3 separate regions of the Homo sapiens genome follow, and all the other regions are linked to region 1. The links are contacts of gene promoters, found by promoter capture Hi-C in blood cells and fetal thymus (Javierre and others, 2016). All regions are on one chromosome and are shown on one strand. Each heading gives the region's core, a stretch centred on a gene start or on the middle of the fragment in contact. The rest is flanking DNA. Distances are from core to core; before and after follow the strand shown. Region 1 overlaps LOC124904915 (a long non-coding RNA gene). Region 2 holds the start of WFDC8 (WAP four-disulfide core domain 8). Region 3 holds the start of WFDC10A (WAP four-disulfide core domain 10A).

Region 1 (3,765 bases), core at 598-3,097:
TGGGGCAGGTTTGCTCTGGTTTTGAGTTTCAGTGCTAAGAAGGAAGAGGAAAACGAGAGAGAAGAGATTGAGTTGTTTATATTATCTGGCCTCAGGTGAGAGAGTACTGGAATGAGAAGCCTATGTTTAAAGGAAAAAAATATTAAAACTGGGAAAGTATTGAACATGGAAAGATGTAACCTATACAATGAAGTACAGCACAATGGAAGAACCTAAAAATTAAAACCAAGAATACATATATATATTTCTTGATATATATATCAAGAAATAGCAATCTATCTGCAAGCCGAAAAGTGTTGCAGAAGGAATGGAGGCTTTGTCATCGAATACACCTGCTGGTTTAACCAAACTAAGATTGAAAGTAAAAACCTTAGCCTGGGAAACATAGCGAGACCCCATCTCTACAAAAACTGAAAAAAATAGCCAGGTGTGGTGGTGCATGCCTGTGGTCCCAGCTACTTCGGAGGCTGAGGTAGAAGGATTGCTTGAGCCCAGGAAGTCGAGGCAGCAGTGGGCCGTGTTTGAGCCACTGCACTCCAGCCTGGGTGACAGAGTAAGACCCTGTCTCAGAAAAAAAAAAAGAAAGAATGTAAAAGCGTTTGAAGCCATTTGGCAAAGATCATGGAAAACAGGGCAAGCAATAGCTACAGAGTTCCAGAGCCATGTTAAATTAATAAATAAGTAAATATTTAAACATTGAATACCTTAACAATTAAAAATCATATCTATCTATTATATTGTTGAATGACAAAAGCCTATTACAGGATGATTCTACCTATATCGACATTTGCATATATGCATAAAGCAAGTCTGGAAGGACCTTCACAAGCATGTTAACAATGGTCACCTATGGGTAGGGAGATCTTCTTTGAATTTTTTTTTTTTTTTTTTTGGTGCATTAGCGATCTTGATGGTTTCAAATGTCATCACCAGGGAATGATAAACGCTGGGGCCTACTTAGGGTGGAGGGCAATAGGAGAGTGAAGATTGAAAAACTACCTATCTGATATTATGCTGATTACCTGGGTGACAAAATTTTCTGTACACCAAATCCCCAAGACACACAATTAGTGCGTGTAACAAACCTGCATATGAATCCCTTTAAAGTAAAATACAAGTTGAAAGGAAAAAAATAAAACCTCTTCAATCATCTTTCAGATAGCAATTTTTTTCATTGCTTCTTCAGTGTACATAAATATTCTTTTACATCATTCACACTTCTTTGAACTTTTCTGTACTGTTTAAATATCGCAATAATGTTTATGCATCCTATTTTAAAAACAACAACAACAAATTAAAAAATAAAAAGGAGAAGGAGGAAGGTGAGGAGGAGAAAAAGAATAACAAAAAAGACTTGTGATCCTAAGCATATAGACAGCTCAGAAATTGCAGGAAAGCTGAAAAAGAAAAACAAGAGAAAGGTAAAGGAAGAATGATCATTAATAATATTACTAAATTGGGCCAGGCACAGTGGCTCACGCCTGTAATCCCAGCACTTTGGGAGGCCGAGGCTGGTGGATCATTTAAGGTCAGGCGTTCGAGACCAGCCTGGCCAACATGGTGAAACCCTGTCTCTACTAAAAATACAAAAATTAGCTGGGCGTGGTGGCTAATGGTGGGTGTAATCCCAGCTACTTGTGAGGCCAAGGCTGGAGAATTGCTTGAACCCAGGGAGCAGAGGTTGCAATGAGCCAAGAGCACACCATTGCACTCCAGCCTGGGCGACAAGTCTCTGTCTCAAAAAAAAAAAAAAAAATTACTGAATTGGGCTACAGATTCTTAGAGCTGCTGATGGGACTTTCATGAACTTCTAATTCAGAGATCCCCAAACCAGACCACACATTAGAATTCCCTGAGGGCTTTTTTTAAATATTGCTCTGAATAAACACATAAACAAGCAGTTCCCTTGGCCCAACCCATCTTTGACCTACTGAATCAAAATATCTGGAATGGGATTGGGGAATCTGCACATTGACCAGCCCGTGCAAGGATCTAAAACCAGCCCCTGGCAACCACTAATGTACTTCTGTCTCTACGAATTTGCCTATTCTAGATGTTCCATATAAATGGAATTATATGGCCTTTTGTGACTGGCTTCTGTCACTTAGCATGTTTTCAAGGTCCATTCATGTTATAGAATGTATTGGTACTTCATTCCTTTTTATGGCTGAATTAATATTTCATTGTATTGATATACCACATTTTGTCTCTCCATTCACCAGTTGATAGATATTTGAGTTGCTTCCACCTGTTGGCTATTGTCCACCTGTTTCTATTTCTATGAACATTTGTTCACAAGTTTTTGCTTGAACATCTAGGGGTTTTGTTTGTTTGGTTTTGGTTTGGGTTTTTTGTTTTTTGTTTTTTGTTTTTTCAGAGATAGGGTCTGTCACCTAGGCAGGAGTGCAGTGGCACCTTCTTAGCTCACTGCAGCCTTGTATTCCTGGGCTCAACTAATCCTCCCACCTCAGCCTCTTGAGTAGCTAGAACTACAGTTATGATGCCACCACACCCTGGTTATTTTTTTAATTTTTCTGTAGAGACAAGGGTCTCACTATGTTGCCCAGGCTGGTGTTAAACTCATGTTCTCAAGCGATCCTTCCACCCCAGCTTCCCAAAGTACTGGGGTTACAGGTGTGAGCCATCACACTTGGCCATTGGATACCTGTTTTTAGTTCTTTTGGGTATATACCTAAGAGTGAAATTGCTGGGTCATATGGTAATTCCACATTTAACTTATTGAGAAACCATCAAACTTTTTAGGGTTTTTTTTTTTTTGAGACGGGGTCTTGCTCTGTTGCCCAGGCCAGAGTGCAGTGGCACAATCATAGCCCCCTGCAGCCTCAATCTCCTGAGCTCCAGTGATCCTCCCACCTCAGCCTCCCAAGTAGCTGGGACTATAAGCACATGTCACTACACCTGACTGACTTTTTTTTTTTTTTTTTAAGTAGAGACAAGATTTTGCTATGTTGCTCAGGCTGGTCTTGAACTCCTGAGCTCAAGCAGTCCTCCCACCTCAGTCTCCCAAAGTGCTGAGATTACAGGCATGAGCCACTGTGCCCAGACCACTGTTTAGTTTTTTAATGTGGCTACTAAAAAACTTGAAATTACATACATGGCTTGCATTATGTTTCTGTGAAAGAGTGCTGCTCTGGATGCTTCTTTCTGCCCAAGTATTCTACTGGAACTTACCTCTCATTTACCTTTGCCCTCACCTGCTTCCAAACAAGACTCAAGGAGGAACTTAATACTATAAAACAGCCAGGTGCAGTGGCTCACGCCTGTAACCCCAGCACTTTGAGAGGCCAAGGCAGGTGGATCATTTGAGGCCAGGAGTTCGAGACCAGCCTGGCCAACTTGGTGAAACCCTGTCTCTACAAAAAATACAAAAATTAGCTGGGCATGGTGGTGCGCATCTGTAGTCCCAGCTACTTAGGGAGCTGAAGCAGGAGGATCACTTGAACCTGGGAGGTCGAGGCTGCAGTGAGCATGATTGCACCACTGCACTCCAGCTTGGGAGACAGAGTGAGACCCTGTCACAAAAAACAACAACAGAAAATAAAATACTACAAAACAAGTTACATGAAAATGAAAGTCTTTAAACCAAGAGTGAAAAAAGGTAGGGGATCCAGGCGCAGTGGCTCACACCTGTAATCCCAACACTTTGGGAGGCCAAGGCATGCAGATCATGAGATCAAGAGATCAAGACCATCCTGGCCAACATGGTGAAACCCCATTTCTACTAAAACTACAAAAGTTAGCTGG
Region 2 (3,765 bases), core at 581-3,080, 190 kb before region 1:
AGTAGTGCGATCTCGGCTCGCTGCAACCTCCGCCTTCTGGGTTCAAGTGATTCTCCTGCCTCAGACTCCCGAGTAGCTGGGATTACAGGCACCCACCACCACGTCCTGCTAATTTTTTGTATTTTTAGTAGAGATGAGGTTTCACTGTGTTGGCCAGGATGGTCTCAATCTCCTGACCTAGTGATCCGCCTGCCTCAGCCTCCCAAAGTGCTGGGATTACAGGCATGAGCCACCGCGCCTGGCCTATATACATGTTTAAAAAATAAAGACAGGGCCAGCACGGTGGCTCATGCCTGTAATCCCAGCACTTTGGGAGGCTGAGGCAGGCAGATCACCTGTGGTCAGGAGTTCAAGACTAGCCTGGCCAACACGGTGAAACCCTGTCTCTACTAAAAATACAAAAATTAGCCTGGAGTGGTGGTGCACACCTGTAGTCCCAGCTACTCAGGAGGCTAAGGCAGGAGGATCCCTTGAACCCAGAAGGTGGAGGTTGCAGAGAGCCGAGATCACACCACTATGCTCCAGCCTGGGGGACAGAGAGAGATTCCCTCTCAAACAAAACAAAAAAAATAAAAATAAAAATAAATAAATAAATAAAGTATGTAGAGTTTTATTTAATAATTAACCACACAGATTAAAAAATAGAAAGTAGCCAGCTTCCCAGAAGTCTTCTGTGTGCACCTTCTAATTACCATCTCTGTCATGTGTCTTCAGACAGAAGCACATATAAAAACAAGGTTATGTATTGATCAAATGATGAAAATGTGTGGTCAGAGGCTTGCATTTTCCCTAGGAGCAATGGCTCAGTATTTGCTAATCCGGTGTTCACAGTGACTTTACAGAACATAACTACCCCCAAGTAATGGGAATCAACTGTATTTTTATTACTTTGGTGTACAAAGAACTTTGAGCTCTCCATGGCTTGCCACAACAAAAGACTTCCTAGGCAAATTGTCTACTGCTTTGTTCCAAGTGGGGGCTCTACTTGAGGCTGTGGGACCAAGACAAAAGAAGCAGCCTCTATGTGGATTAGGCCCCTTCTCCTGGCAGAGAGAAAGCACAAAGGAGCTGGCAGAAACTCACAGTGCAAAACTCACTATGCATATGCTACATCTGCTCATACTCCAATAGGCAAAGCACAGCTGACAGCAAACCCAAAGTCAATGAGACAGAAATGTGTCTTCCTTCCACGGGCCGTTCTAAAATTGCAAGGTAATGGACAGGAGTGTCCTCTTAAAGGAAAGATGGAATGAATAGTTGTGAATAATAATATAACCCATCACTACTACTCCTGTTTTAATTTTTTGAAAATGTTTAGATACATATTATATGCTTGTTTAATTTAAAATATCAAACTTTACCTTGCTCAGGCTCTGCCCCTCCACACTGGGCCACTCAAAGATGCCCAACTTACCCTACTTGGGCTCCAACAGCCATATCAGGTTGCATTCGAGACCAGCCTGGCCAACATGGTGAAACCCCGTCTCTACTAAAAATGCAAAACTTAGCCGAGCGTGGTGGCGCACACCTGTAGTCCCAGCTACTAGGGAGGCTAAGGCAGGAGAATCGCTGGATGCATTGATGCCCTCTTCACCCTGCTTAGGCTCTGATTCCTGACACAAGACAGCTCTGTTCTGTGGAACCCCTCCTCACTATGCTTGGCCCAACTCCCCACAGCCGACCACTCTAACTTCTATGTATCCTCCTCATCTCCTTGGGCTCAGACCCTCCATGTCTGGCTACCCACCCCCATAGACACCCTCCTCACCCTCCTTCAGTTCGGACAGTCCACATCAGGCCTCTTCCCTATGGAGACAGCTTCCTCACTTTGCTCCAGCTCTAAGGCTCCTCCCTCATCTGCTCCCCTGCCTGGACACTCTGCTCACCCCACTCAGGCTCTCATTCTATGCCAGTCTGCCCCTCTAGCCCCAGGGGGATGCCTTTCTCAACATGGGCAGGCTGGTCTCCATGCTATGCTGCTTCTTGCCTCTTCACTGGGCATTCTCATCTACCCCTGGCTCCAGCACACCAGGCCAGCAGCCCTCCTACAGAGACACCCTCCTTGACCTGTTCCAGCTCTGATGCCCACACGGAGCCAGCCGTGGCTCCCTTCCCCTTGGGGCAAACGCCTACCTTGCTAAATGTGCCTATCTAATGGCTTTAGGACTGACTAGTTCAGTTAGTAAAGAAAAGGAGACAAAACAAGGAAGAGCTACTTTTCCTTTTTGTAAAAATATGTATTGTGAAAAACACCACAAAAATAAAAATATGCATGAAACATTAATGTTCAGTCTAACGAACTATTACGAAGTGACCACTCATTAAACTATCACTGAAATCAAGTAAAAAATTTCCAACACTTTCTGCTCCTTTTTCATTCTTTTCCAGTCACAACCCCTTCCTATGCTCTCAAAGGCAGCTAATGGTAGTGACTTTCTTTTTCATATTTTCAAGATCATATGTATTCCCCTAAATATGTTTTTGTTTTTGTCTGCTTCTGTTCTATATCAATGGAGTCACTTGGAATGTATTCTTTTGTGCCTGGCTTTTTGTGTTCAACATTATATTAATGAATTCCATCCACATTGTTTTGTGTAGCTGTATTTTGTCAATTTTCATTGCCATGCCATCTATTGTATGACTACACACATCTCTACTGAGTTGTTTATAGTTTGCAGCTGTTAAGAATAAAGCTGCTGTGTGTATACATAGCATGTATGTAATAACGTTCTGCACGTGTATCCCAGAACTTAAAGTATAATAAAAAACTAGGATTTTCTAAATAAAAATGTTATTTATATCAACATGTAATAAGTTTATTACGTTAAATGAATTAATAAATGTTTTTAAATGTCAAAAAAATTTTAAACAATTTACTCATGTAAAAAAAAGAATAAAGCTGCTATGAACACTCTGTGTGCATTTGCTGGAGCACGTGGGCAGGTGTTCTTGTAGGTTATACATTCAGCATAGGGAATGATGGGTTACAGGGTATGCATATCTTCAGCTTCTCAAGCTGATACCAAATTATTTCCCAAAGAGTTTGTACCAATTCACAGCCTTGCCATTGGTAGTTGAGAGTTCCTATTGTTCCATAACCATGCTGTATGTAGAACTGTCACAATCTTTTCATTTTTACCATCCTGCTACGAGTATGGAAATACATCACTGTGGACTTAATTTAAATTTCTTGACTACTAATGAGGTTGAGCACCTTTTTAGATCTTTATTAACCACTTGGCTATCCTCTCTTTGATTTTCTTTTCAAATGTTTTGCTCATTGTTCTCTGGGGTTTTCTGACTTTTTCTTGCTGATTTCTACTGGAGTCATGTCTTTCCTCAGTTATATGTATTATGAACATCTTCCAGGATCAAGGGTAATCTTCTAAAACCCTTATTGGCTTGTCTTTTACCTTTTGAATGAAAGTTTTTATCACGTGCCCTTCCTACCCCAAAGACAGAATCAGGAATCCTTTTTCTATGTTCCTTTCCTACAATACAATAACTCGCTACAATACAATACAGTAACTCCAATATCTGAAGTCTTTGTGGACCTCTGCTGTTGGTTGTTTTTCTTGATTTTTTTCATCTTGTTTTCTTAAGATCTGTGTGATTTTTTTTATTGTGAGAGTACATATTTAATGGAAGTTTATGTATGTAACAATACTTTGTGGAATTTCTTGGATTCCTGTGTTTAAAGGAGAATTCTTCCGAATCAACTTGTCCTCAATTTTTCCCTAACAACTCATGCAATTTTGAATTAAA
Region 3 (3,765 bases), core at 770-3,269, 140 kb before region 1:
TAGCCACCTGGAAGCTCTGACTTATATATTTTAATTTGAAATTTCTGTTCAGTTTTGAGTAATTGTCTTTTTTTAGACTAATTTCTAATTATTTCCATTATAGTCTGAAACTATGTCCTTTGTGATGTAATTCTTTAAAATTTTGTTCAGACTTTTTTTATAGCCTAATGTATAGTCACTTTTTGTACATGTTTTATTTGTGCTTGAGAAAAATGTGTTCCTCTAGTTTTTCTATGCAGACTTCTGTATATTTTAATTAAGTCAAGCTTATTAATCATAATGTTCAAATTACCCATCTCTTTACTAAATTTACTACTCTATCAATAATTTGAATGTATAAAGTATAGACCTTCTATATACCCATAAATCTTTCCCCTTATAAATGTCAGTACTTGAGCCTGCCACAATGTTGACTAGACTGCTTTAACAGAAAGCCTCCATCACATAATAACTGAAATACAATATACTTTTTATTTCTTGCTCAAATAATAATTCAAAATGAGTATTCTAAAACAATGGGTATCCTTTTTTCATGTGATAAAAGAAGTCAAGGACCCAGGCTCCTTTCACCTTTTGGCTTCACTAGGCTCTAGAACCTTGTTGTCATCTATACTGAGCTGGTGGAAAAGAAAAAGAGTGTGAAAGAGACTTGCCATCTTCTTAGGGTCTTGACCTAGTAGTGACAAGTCTGTTAGCCAAAATATTTACATTGTGGCACTGGCTGCAAGATGCTTGGGTAAGGAAAATGCAGCTTCTATTTGAGATGATGATTCTCCTCTATATAACCCCTCTTTGCTAGGATAGTTATGACAGTGTCCAGTCTCTAAATTGTTCATTTATGAGTGGACAAAAAGAAAAACTAGGAAAGAGAGAGCCTTTGGGAAGGGTCAAATACCACTCTGTAAACTATAGGTACAAATATCAGAATTTTTGAATTATAAAGGATATCGCAAAGGATACAGAGGAAGGTGCATAAGGTGAGATATGGGGGAAAGGCTAGAGAGCTTCCTTTGAATGTAAATTACAACTGTGGACTGAAGGAGTCTGCATTAGGAGTTCAGAATGTCAGAAAGAGGTTCAAATCTTTAGAAGATTATCATCATCAGAGGAAGAGGGTGATCTTCTTCCCAGCTTGCATGCCTACTGGGAGTCCAGTGACCCTAGGTTGTCCCCTCTTTCTCCTGTTAGGGAAGAAGAAACATCTTCACTTCTGAGAGTTCATTTCCTTCATGATATTCAAGGTCAGTGACCACCTCCTCCTGGACAGCCTGCCAAGCCTTTGACTGATAGGTCTCTCCCCCTGTCTGAGCTCTAAGATATTTACTATGTTTCTCCACTAGCCCTTCTGTCCCATGCCCTACAATAGTCTCTCTTTCTGTGTGTTTATGTGTGTTTAAATTTGTATATGTATATCTGTGTATGTGTTTATATACATTTATATATGAAACAGCTACTTACTCTTTCACTCAGGAATTCTAGCTCTCTTAGTCTAAAGAAATCAAAGATTTATAAATAAAAATAATATGACATTCTCTAGATTATTAGTAATTAGTACAATACAAATACTTGATTATTAGCATTTGAGAGCTGTGCAATTATGAAAATCCACATTTTGAGAAATACTTACATGATTAAATAAGGGTGGCAAAAATAGATAACAAAAGTTGTTTATATTAAAAGGATTGTTTATATTAAATATGGAGAGAAACTAAAAGATAATGCAATGAAACATCAGTTAATTCTAAGCAACTCTTTTTAACAATATATTTTTTCTTTTCTTTTTTCCATAAAACATTTTGTAATTAGAAAGCAGAAATAAATGATATCTTTCATTCTATCGGCAAGAACACAAGACTGGTTATGTGAAAGGAGGAGGCGTCATTCCTGCGGAAGCCCTATCCCACATGACGAACGACAAGGCCAGGGGCAAGCAAAAAGAGGAAGGACTCTCTTGCTCTGCTCCGACTTGGCCAGTAGAGGCAGTGAGGAGCTAAAGATCATTCCTTCTTTCCTTCCTTCACTCTCCGTAGACAGCTCTGCAGGGAAGTCTGTGACAACCTGGCCAGACATAGGGCTCACGATCTGATCAGAGTCATGGCACCCCAGACTCTGCTGCCTGTCCTGGTTCTCTGTGTGCTGCTGCTGCAGGCCCAGGGAGGATACCGTGACAAGAAGAGGATGCAGAGTAGGTGATGGGCTGCTGGATGGGTGAGGGGGAATTGGGTAGGGGGAATGGAGGGCCTGTGTCCAGTCTGAGTAGGACCTAGGAGTTGGAAACTCTCTGCATATCCAGCTCTGACCACAATGTTGTGTAGACTCTGGACTGTCCCTAAACCATGGCCCTCCAGCCCCTTAGCTGGCCCTGGGAATAGTAATGGGAATGAAGAAGAAACCTGCATATTTTGCTGTTCCTTCTCAATACTTAGAGAGAAATGGCACATCCCATAGTGAAAGGCGCACCAGGGCTGAGAATCCAGTGGGGAAAGCAAGACAATTATTATTTGATTTATGCACATTTGTGAGGAGTAAAGATTCAGAAGTGGTTATGACGGTAGGTGTAGGTGTAGAATGGGTATAAGTGTAGGGAAATAGGACATAAGACAAGCAAAAGTTGGGGTACACAGAGCCAAGTTAAGGTTATCATCAAAGGGGCAAGGAGAGTGGTGGTGGAAAGGGAACTAAAGAAGGGGCAGGAAGACTAGAGACAGTGACAGTGAGCAGAAGAGAGGGAGAGACAAGAGGCATGTTGATCCTCATCTCTGAATTCTACTATTCAGAGACTAGGAGAGAGTTTGAAAGATGTCTCATGCTTCTTTGAGCTCTCAGGATCAGACTGTAGATTCTTTGGTGGTGACTTCACCAAGGCCATGACTAGTAAGGGAGATGGAGTTCTGATTGCTGGTGTGTGGAGAAGGTCCAGGAAGCCCAGGCATTGTGGTCTAATGGGGTAAGGTGTACAGTGGAGAGACAGGATTTAAAATATGACCAATCACTAGGATTTGGTGATGGGCAGGAAGGTAGTTCTATGAAGAAGGAATCCAGGAGTATCATGACTGAGACCTGGGTTCAAGGGTCTTGGAGGAGGCTTCAGCTTGAGAAAAATGTTCTCTAGGAAACTGCGTTTATTTACCGTTCTATTCTCCTTGTCAGAAACACAGCTATCCCCAGAAATCAAAGTCTGCCAGCAGCAGCCTAAACTATATCTATGCAAACACTTATGTGAATCTCACCGAGATTGTCAAGCAAATAACATATGCTGTTCTACCTACTGTGGGAATGTTTGCATGAGCATCCTGTGAGTGGGAGAGTGGGCTGGGATGTGCATCCTGCTTCCCAACTCCTCTATCCAAGACTGTGCCCACATCCGAAGCACAAGGACCTCAAGTCACCAGCATAAGAACATCAACAGGAATGCCGCCCTCTCTACTGTCTGAACCCCTTGTCCCTGTCAAATAAACCAGAACAAATGCCCAGGGATCCTACCTCTTTTGCTGCCACTACAGATGATCATTGAGAGCTCACTGTGGCCCCTACAGATGCCCCACTTGTCTTGCGTCCTGGTGTTCAATTTCTCTCCCTGGCTATGCTTCTCTACCCTCCCTCTCCCTCTTTGGCCCACGTATCCCTGCCAGCCCTCAGGATGCCCAGCCCCTTGCTGTTTTGCTCACTGAACCAGTACTCCCAGGGGGAGGAACTGCTCATGTGCAGCATCTCCTGATGCTAAGGAGAACATTTCTCACCCTGGAGTCAGAAGGACCCATTAAG

What was found. The method cuts DNA at HindIII sites, captures the fragments that hold promoters and counts their contacts. A CHiCAGO score of 5 or more calls a contact.
Region 2: a contact is called between the fragment with the promoter of WFDC8 here and a fragment that was not itself captured in region 1, in 3 of 17 cell types (M0 macrophages, M2 macrophages and M1 macrophages). The highest score is 10.6, in M0 macrophages.
Region 3: the fragment with the promoter of WFDC10A here is called in contact with a fragment that was not itself captured in region 1 in 3 of 17 cell types (M2 macrophages, M0 macrophages and megakaryocytes); the score reaches 7.3 in M2 macrophages.

The regions. Positions count from the first base shown.
Region 1 is chr20:45,766,429-45,770,193 of GRCh38, forward strand. LOC124904915 (a long non-coding RNA gene) reads left to right here. Exons shown (of 2, transcript XR_007067610.1): 2 at 1-1,152. Among named protein-coding and RNA genes, the nearest start is that of WFDC3, 24 kb to the right of the region's middle. RefSeq lists an enhancer at 1-169. The HindIII fragment of the contact is 5,957 bases long and covers 1-3,765 here.
Region 2 is chr20:45,577,454-45,581,218 of GRCh38, forward strand. It overlaps WFDC8 (WAP four-disulfide core domain 8), which reads right to left and starts at 1,831. Exons shown (of 6, transcript NM_130896.3): 1 at 1,769-1,831. The coding sequence starts at 1,794. RefSeq lists an enhancer at 646-1,581. The HindIII fragment of the contact is 6,723 bases long and covers 1-3,765 here.
Region 3 is chr20:45,627,720-45,631,484 of GRCh38, forward strand. WFDC10A (WAP four-disulfide core domain 10A) reads left to right here and starts at 2,020. Exons shown (of 2, transcript NM_080753.3): 1 at 2,020-2,185; 2 at 3,151-3,477. The coding sequence starts at 2,095. The coding sequence ends at 3,299. WFDC9 (WAP four-disulfide core domain 9) reads right to left here and starts at 3,565. Exons shown (of 5, transcript NM_147198.4): 1 at 3,484-3,565. The HindIII fragment of the contact is 11,361 bases long and covers 265-3,765 here.